Linked DNA regions of Homo sapiens: all the other regions are linked to region 3. The links are contacts of gene promoters, found by promoter capture Hi-C in blood cells and fetal thymus (Javierre and others, 2016). All regions are on one chromosome and are shown on one strand. The core of a region is centred on a gene start or on the middle of the fragment in contact, and the rest is flanking DNA. Distances in the headings are between cores, read along the strand shown. Region 1 overlaps LOC105369698 (a long non-coding RNA gene). Region 2 overlaps LOC124902897. Region 3 holds the start of C2CD5 (C2 calcium dependent domain containing 5).

The links. Contacts are between HindIII fragments. The CHiCAGO score rates a contact against its expected background, and 5 or more counts as called.
Region 1: a fragment that was not itself captured here is called in contact with the fragment with the promoter of C2CD5 in region 3 in 1 of 17 cell types (M2 macrophages); the score reaches 10.9 in M2 macrophages.
Region 2: a fragment that was not itself captured here is called in contact with the fragment with the promoter of C2CD5 in region 3 in 1 of 17 cell types (M2 macrophages); the score reaches 6.6 in M2 macrophages.

Annotation. Positions count from the first base shown.
Region 1 is chr12:24,696,751-24,699,450 of GRCh38, reverse strand. All of the region lies in intron 1 of LOC105369698 (a long non-coding RNA gene), which reads left to right. Among named protein-coding and RNA genes, the nearest start is that of LINC00477, 110 kb to the right of the region's middle. The HindIII fragment of the contact is 3,483 bases long and covers 1-2,700 here.
Region 2 is chr12:24,715,580-24,718,279 of GRCh38, reverse strand. All of the region lies in intron 1 of LOC124902897, which reads right to left. Among named protein-coding and RNA genes, the nearest start is that of BCAT1-AS1, 100 kb to the left of the region's middle. The HindIII fragment of the contact is 3,597 bases long and covers 1-2,700 here.
Region 3 is chr12:22,543,153-22,545,852 of GRCh38, reverse strand. It overlaps C2CD5 (C2 calcium dependent domain containing 5), which reads left to right and starts at 1,311. Exons shown (of 27, transcript NM_001286176.2): 1 at 1,311-1,533; 2 at 1,674-1,792. The coding sequence starts at 1,703. RefSeq lists enhancers at 1,181-1,410, 2,551-2,700 and a silencer at 1,551-1,670. The HindIII fragment of the contact is 7,848 bases long and covers 1-2,700 here.

The DNA of each region.
Region 1 (2,700 bases), core at 181-2,680, 2.2 Mb before region 3:
AACCAGTGAATGTAAAATAATGATTTTTTTGAAAACTGCCTCAACATACCATTGAGTATTCTCACACACTTTCTGGTGGGCTCTTCTGTGGCTCTGGTCTTCACACTGGCCTTTGGTCCACAATGCAAATCATAGGTGTTGGGACAGGTCGCTATGTGAAACTATTCCCGTAGAAAGAAAGCAATGCAGCTTCCTAATACAAGGGAAAAAAAGAGCAAAGAAATACTTAAGCTCTCAACTTAAAATATGCAAGACATTTGCTTATTTGCTTTGTCAATATTAGAGAATTTCTTGTTACAGGATATTAGCTGAGGTTGAGAGGCCTTAAAAGTCCCAAGTAAGATATTAAAAACAGTTAACATTTAAGAATCATTGAGAGTCCTTTTCCCTATTTTTTAAGGCATATGCTAATCATCAGTTGAAATCAGGTATTTCCTCTCATGGAGTACTATTCCATAGTTAAGTAAAAGATAGGGTTTCCTTTGAAGTATCTGATCACTGCTTGTTGTAGGGGAACTGACAAGGAAGGGCATTCATTATGTTTTTTTAACCATATAGAAACTTGATTTAACAGTTTATAAGGATGACATTTATTTTAAGCTATTGCATTGAATATAATATTTCCCTAGGACTGTATTTTCATTTACTCTTAGTATATTACCCATTATTTTATTTAGTCATGAAACTCACTTATTTAATTCAAATGCTTTCATTTGCTCAATAAGTTTGCTCAGTAAGAATTAATTGAGTAGTAACCAGCACCAGGCACTGGGATCCATAACACTCTCCAGGAGAGAGACCAGTGGGTTATTTTTGGGCTTAATATGCTAATGGGTTGGGGGTACAAGGAGCCACTGTATTCAAAACAGAATTGTGTGTTGCTTCTTGAGGCAGGGAGGATACTGTATGTATCTTTGTATCTCCAGTTATATTTTAGGCACCCAAGTACATTTTTTTGAATTGAATTGAGTAGAATCATATAGTGTTTGTCTTGGAAATGTATATCAAAGATCATTTAGTGTCTAGTCTAAGAGGTTCGTAGAAGTGTCCAGAGATTGCCAAAAGGCGGGATGAGAAGGCAGATTTCTAAGAGTCCCCAACTTATATTTTAATTAGTATAGCCTCCATTTTATTTACTAGGCACCTGTATAACATTTTGGTTTTTATTAAGATGTATCTACTACTAAAGAAATTTAGAAAACCACTGATAATTCAATTGCCTCATTTTACATTAAAATTTCTGTAATTTTACAAATAAGGCAAATCTATTTTTCAGCATACTGTATCAGTTACACATTATTTAATCTTTTAAACAACAGATATAGTTCAGATCACGTCCTCTGCCCTTAATTCCTTTTTTTTTTTTTTTGGTAGCTGTTTAAAAAAGAAATGGGGGAGTGTGACAGCCTAAAAATAATTTTCTCAAGAAATGATGAAGCAATAGAGTACAAAAGCCTTTGAAGATCTCTAGCAAGCTATGTCAGTGTCTGTAATGTGAAACTGCTTGAGGTCTCTTCAATGCTGTGTGCCCTCACACTGTGAATGAATTCATTAAAACAATGCAGAATTCATCTGGGGCAAAAAAATAAGGAAACTAATTTTTACATGGCTACGGAGTGAGGATAAGATTCTCTCTTAATTTCCTTGGCCTAATGGAGAACACATACATATGCTATCAGCTCATCTCTATCATTAAAAATAAGTTAGAAATGAGAACATGCACAATCATATCAAGGCTTGTCGATTTAAAAAATCCACCCAAGAAAGATGTTTTGGAGATTACTGAGACTCTCAGCTCCCATCAAAGGTGAAAGGAGATTCAGAGAGCAAAGCATCAGTTAATGTTGAGATCTTTATTATAAAGCAAAGCAAAATTGCCTCCTGCAGGTAACTTGGTGTTGATACCTGCAGAAAGAGAGTGCTTCCAGATGACTGATCTGATCGTGTGTCATACACTTAAACCTAGGTAGTCCAGGCTTAAGTCAACAAGACTGATTGAAAACTTTGAGGGCCATGAAATGACGACACTGTCATGAAAGATGTGTCTCTTTGCAAGCAGAAAATTACAGAAAGCACTAAAAATAAGCATTTTTTTTTCCTACAACTGAGATTGTGGAACTTTTTTAACTCCAGAGAATGGAATGCAACTCTCTGGTGGACTTTTGTCTTCTATTTTCAAAAGCGTTTCTTACAGCTGAAAATTTCAAAGGCACAGTTGAGACTAAATGTTATTTACAAATTCCAGAAGTCTACGAACTTCCTTTTCTTCATAAAATGGTCATATCAACCCCAGCTGAATATTTTGAGTTCATGTGTCTATCAAAAATGTAGTGAACTAAATGCCTACGAAGTCAGCTGAGGCCACATGATTACTGAAAAACACGATACAAAAAGTGAAGAAATGAAGGCAGTCCTCATGGTCCCTTGCGCAGTGGCAGGCCTATCACACCATTTTAGTGTTTAAATGCCAACATGATGAAGCAGCTAAAAGCAAAGGTCATTAGTCTTCCGTGGATATGAGAAAAATGGCTATAAAAGTAGCAAGGAAGGAGTAGACAGGCAGTGAGCGAAAGCACAGCAGGTTGCAAAAGTAGAGTTAGAGAGTAGTTAAGGCAAGATGGGGAGAGGTTGAGAGGGTGGAGAATGGATGCCTGGCCAACGACAGAGAAGTAGAGTCACAAAAATAAGGGATCAGCATAT
Region 2 (2,700 bases), core at 145-2,644, 2.2 Mb before region 3:
TGGAACTACAGGCACGCACCACCACACCTGGCTATTTTTTTTTTTTTTGTATGTTTTGTAAAGATAGGGTTTCACTATGTTGCCCAGGCTGAACTCCTGGGATCCGCCCATCTCGGCCTCCCAAAGTGTTGGGATTACAGGCATGAGCCACCGCGCAGGGCTTCTCCTTCACTTTCTTACTCATATGTACACACACACACGCACGCATGCACAAGCATCTATGCACACACACACAGTTAGATGCTTATATTAAGTGGTCCCCAAACTTAAGTGATATTTCTCCCTCTTCTATGACATTGCCCACTAGTTATTTTCTGTTAGCTGAACAAAAGCAATTCCATTCATTTCTGAGAGACTCTAAAGACGTGTTTACATAGATAGCAACTCATGCCAACAACCTAAATGTGGAATCATTCTTCCTAGGTTTCCCTCAGCACTCACCATATAGTACCATCAATGATCTAACCAAAAAATAACCTGTTCAGAGAAAATGTGTTGTCATAAACAAGGTGCACAGAGATCTGGGTTCTAGAAATTGCTCAACTGTTAATTAGCATTGTGACCTTCAGGAACTCATTTAACCTTTCAGAACCTTTTAAACCTCTCCTATCTACTTCCTGGGTTAGGAGGATACAATAGGGTAATGTCTGTGAAAGGAGCCTAAACGACTGAATCGTTCACATGAGCAACTTTTAAAGTCAACCCTATCCAACTTTGCAGAGCTGTTTTAGAATAAAAAATTATTTCTTTGTGCTCAACCATATCAGTTGTAAAACTATTTTAGAAGTGGGGATTGATTAACTTTTAAGGCAACCAACCACATTTATTCAAAGAAACTGTATGAGCACACTATATTAGGCACTACAAAATCCTAATTTGTTTACATTCCAAGATTCAAATTCAGGCCCCTTCTGTGACACTCAAATTCCGCACCTCTATACCTAATCAGACTCAGACACTTTACAAAATACTGACAACTTGTGACAGCTGTAAGTATAGCTATCCTTCAAAAATCCAGGTGGACAGAGACTTCGCTTTTCATAGGATTTCCCACATACACAACCAATTAAGAGATTAAAAGGACATACCAGTTTTAAAATGTGTTATTCACTGACACAGGCAGTGTTCTGGCACTGTGTTTTGACTGCACTGACAGGAGCATATTTATAGGGAAGAATTCCACCTAGATTCTTTTGTTCAGCTCATTACAATTGATTTGTTACTGGTGTAAACTCAGGATTATTATAATAATTAGTGCAGACATTAATGTAATGAAATAGTGTTTTCCAGCTAAAGTAATATTCAAACGCAAGCCTGGTTTTCCTCCACTGTTAACTGGAGTCCTCCGAACACTCCGAGACTGAGGCGGTTCTTGATGCTCCATATTAAGCCGAGGTTCCTTTACTTTTATTCTTTTTTTGGTTTCACTGTTGAACCTTTCTAGGTCGCAATTACACTTAGTTTCTATAATGCAGTGCCAATGAAGTGACAAACGCTATCGCATAAGTCAAAGGCAGGATTTGGAGAGTGCAGGTGTTCAGAAGTTTGCACACCATGCAGTGTTTGACTGTGGGATTCATTATGGCTTACGGGAAGATAGCAGCCCTTGAAGGGCTCCAGTGACAGAAACACATTTGCAGCTTGCTGCCAAGCCATACAGATGTGGAGGCAATGTTTAAAATCATCTAATAGAGATGTGTTCAAGATCACCTGAGCCACCTTTGTGGCTCTAGGGCCAGGTTTGTTAGAGCCACAGGCTCACACACCTGCCAAGAAGTGTGAACACCCCTCCAGGTCTTTGTAAAATGCATCTGTGTGTAACTTTTGATAGCTTTTACAAAACATGCAATTACTGTTCAGAGTGACTTTCCTTCAGCTGCTTTCTAGTCATGGGAAGTAGGTGGAAACATTTCTCAGTGGGCTGGAATTCCAAATGCCACTTGGATCCTGGGCTATGGGCCTTTTTATATTGTTTGTGCATGTATTTCAGGCATGTTCGAGCTGAGGGGCTTAGCGTTCAAAGGGCACGTAGTCTGGAAAAATCACAGGTTTCTGTTAAAAATTCACCTTTGTAATAAATGTGGGAATGGCGATTTGAAGTAAATAATAAGAAATCATTAAGTTGTGGTGAACAAAATGTGCCAATTTGCTCTGACATTTCACAGTATCAATTGCCTTCTTATGTGTCAAAATCATGAATAAGATTTTTTTGGGAGGGGGGTGTTGGAATGATATGTTGAGTTGCAAACTCGTTAACAGTAGTCATTGGAAATGGAAGAAAATGGTGTTGAAGTAGTTGCTGCAGCCTTGGTGGTAAAGGGAATGAGGAGGCTTACCACAGCTTTCTCCTGTTGCCTGAAGCCTGAGACCCTGTAACAATCTCCAGGACAGTCACCTGAGAGGGAGACCCACCTGCATCTGAGCTGGGGGACTCTGGGCTTTCATAGCTTTAGAGATTTGGGAGTTGCAAATCAAATTCTTCATATTTGGCCATATGAAAAACATTCACCCTCAGAAAACTTGAGTGGAGGCAATGGTGACCATTTTACATTAATTTATTTTGGTCTGCGGTTAATTCTCTAGCAGCTTCAGTTAGCACTGGAGTCTTTCAGCACCACGGATCCTTTCTTCTATCACATGAACCTTCTTTTCTCCTTCACCCTTCAGGTCCAGCTCTGTACCTTTCCTCAGAAGTCCCCT
Region 3 (2,700 bases), core at 62-2,561:
CTCTCCATGTTTATTTCTTGTGGTTGACTATACTTTCCATGGTAGGAAGTCCTGAACTTCTGCTACTACTGTAGGTCTTATCTTTAGGCTTGTGGATGCTTAATAAGAACACTGAGATGATCTAAGAGTGCAGGACATTTAATTAAAAAAAAATTTTTTTTAAGAGACAGAGTTTTGCTCTGTTGCCCAGGTTGGGGTGCAGTGGTGAGATGGCAGCTCACTGCAGCCTCAAACTCCTGGGCTCAAGCAATTCTCCCAGATTCTCCCACCTCAGCTTCCTAGGTAGCTGAGACCACAGACGAGCCACCGGCCCAGCTAATTTTTGCATTTCTTGTAAAGAAGGGGTCTTACTGTGTTGCCTCGTCTCCATGAGGCTGGTCTCGAACTCCTGGACTCAATCGATCCTCCCACCTCAGCCTCCCACAGTGCTGGGATTACAAATCTGAGCCACCACACCTACCAGCAGAAACTTTTTTTCAAGAGGAGACTTTGGATTTCAAGGTGACCTCCCCCACCCCGCCCACAGTAATATCTGTGACCCAGTGCACAACACAAGTGCCTATGACTGAATAAAATATTTCACTAAATATTTATTTCACTATTCGAGATGTGCCTGGTATCTCTATTTCTTTCTTTCTTTTTTTTCTTTTTTTGGAGACAGAGGAGTGATCTCGGCTCACTGCAACCTCCGCCTCGCAGGTTCAAGCGATTTTCCTGCCTCAGCCTCCTGAGTAGCTGGAATTAGAGGCGCTCGCCACGACGCCCAGCTAATTTTTGTATTTTTAGTAGAGACGGGGTTTCGCCATGTTGTCCAGGCTGGTCTTGAACTCCTGACCTCAGGTGATCCGCCCGCCTCGGCCACCCAAAGTGCTGGGATTACAGACGTGAGCCACTGTGCCTGGCCATCTAACTCTATTTCACAGAAAACTGGAACCACCACACGCACCTGTACCCCTTCCAAGTAGAAACCAGCTAATTTGGTTTTACGAATCACTAAAGGCCGACTGAAAACGCTCTTCTAGCAGTCTTCGCTGCTACTCCATCTATCACAGCCCATCCGAAAAGCGGCGGTAGCAGCTGGGAAGGCCGCGGCCGGAGGCTGTCACAGAGCAGCACTCGCGCTTCGGCCCGCAAGATGGAGCGTTTCCCTCCAGGGAAGCAGCGCCGCACCTATCCACAGCCCCCACTCGGTGGATGATGCAGGACTCGGCCCATTTCCCTGCCCTCCAGCTTTCTCAACGTCAGCCCCGCCCCCTTATCTTTCCTCGGCGAGTTTAGTTTCGCCCCGCCAAGTGGGCAGAGCGCCGAACGATCGATGCTTTCTTCCGCGCCCCGAGAGCCGCCATTTTTGAGAGCGGGGGAGGAGAGACAAGCAGGGGCGGCAGAGGCTCAACGGGATGCTGACTGGGTTTTGCTTTTCGTCCCAGCCTTGTGGGGCCGGGACGGAAGAACCCATCAAAGCCCTTCCTCCCGCCGCCTCTCCGGAATGAGGTCTCAGCACCCGCGCGGGACAGCACCCTTCCTCCTGCGACAGTGAGTGGCGACCCGTGGCGCGACTGCCGGGCGCCCGCGCGCGCCCCCGCGCGCTCCTTCGCTGTCAGTTACCCCGCGCGCCTCCGCCCCTCTCCCGCCGGCCCCGCGCTCGGCGCAGACTCGTTTGTTTGTTTCTGCAGGAGCCCAAGAAGAGGCCGAAACCGAGACCATGCCAGGGAAGCTGAAGGTGAAAATCGTGGCCGGGCGCCATTTGCCAGTGATGGACCGTGCTAGTGACCTGACTGATGCCTTCGTGGAGGTTGGTGCAGGGTCCTGCCCCTCAAAACACAGGGAGCGCCAAGCCCTGTGAAGGATCTACCCACCTCGCCCCCAGCCCCTCAGCCTATTCCCCCCTCGACTGCCCTCCCTTCGGCCGTGGTTGTCCAGCTCTCCCACGAGGGATGACCGCCGAGACCTCAGTGTGTGCGATGGGTGCACGGCTTGCAGGCGTCCGCGGCACAGTCCGCTGCGCGGGGAGGCTTGTACTGTTGTGCATGCGGGGGTGACCCTGATGTCAGGACTCATTAACAGGCCACCTGCCACTCAGGAGATCCCAAGGCGTGGCCGCGCAGCCACCGACACACTCACACACATACACACACACACACACAAATGCCGGAATGACTCTGATGTCAGGACTCATTAACAGGCCACCTGCCACTCAGGAGATCCCAAGGTGTGGCCCCGCAGCCACTGAAACACACACACACACAGGCACACACACACCCTTGGAAGGGGTGGCCAGAGTGCTGGACATCATGTTTAAGAAGGTGCATGAAGCCCTTTATGGGCACTTGGAGTCCCACAGTGCGAGGAAATCCACTCTCATGCCTAACATTTTGTGAATCTGCCATGCACGTTCTAAAACACAACTGCAACACTTCCTGCTCTTGTATAGGCTGGTAGGTCTGATGAGGTGTTTCAGGGTAATTTAGCGCCTTGAGGTAGGAAGTCATTTAATTGCCATGGACTTAAATTGCAAAATTGCTTTTTAAGTCTAATGATTAGTTTAAAAGTCATGCAAATTAGTAAAGGCCTACGGCCGGAAGGTAATAACCCAGAGTCTGAAAGAAGCCAAGTAAAGATTGTAATAAAAATTGGCGTGATGAGCCAGAGCATTAGAGCAGCAATCATTTGGGCTATTAGTGCTTAGAATTGATGGATAGA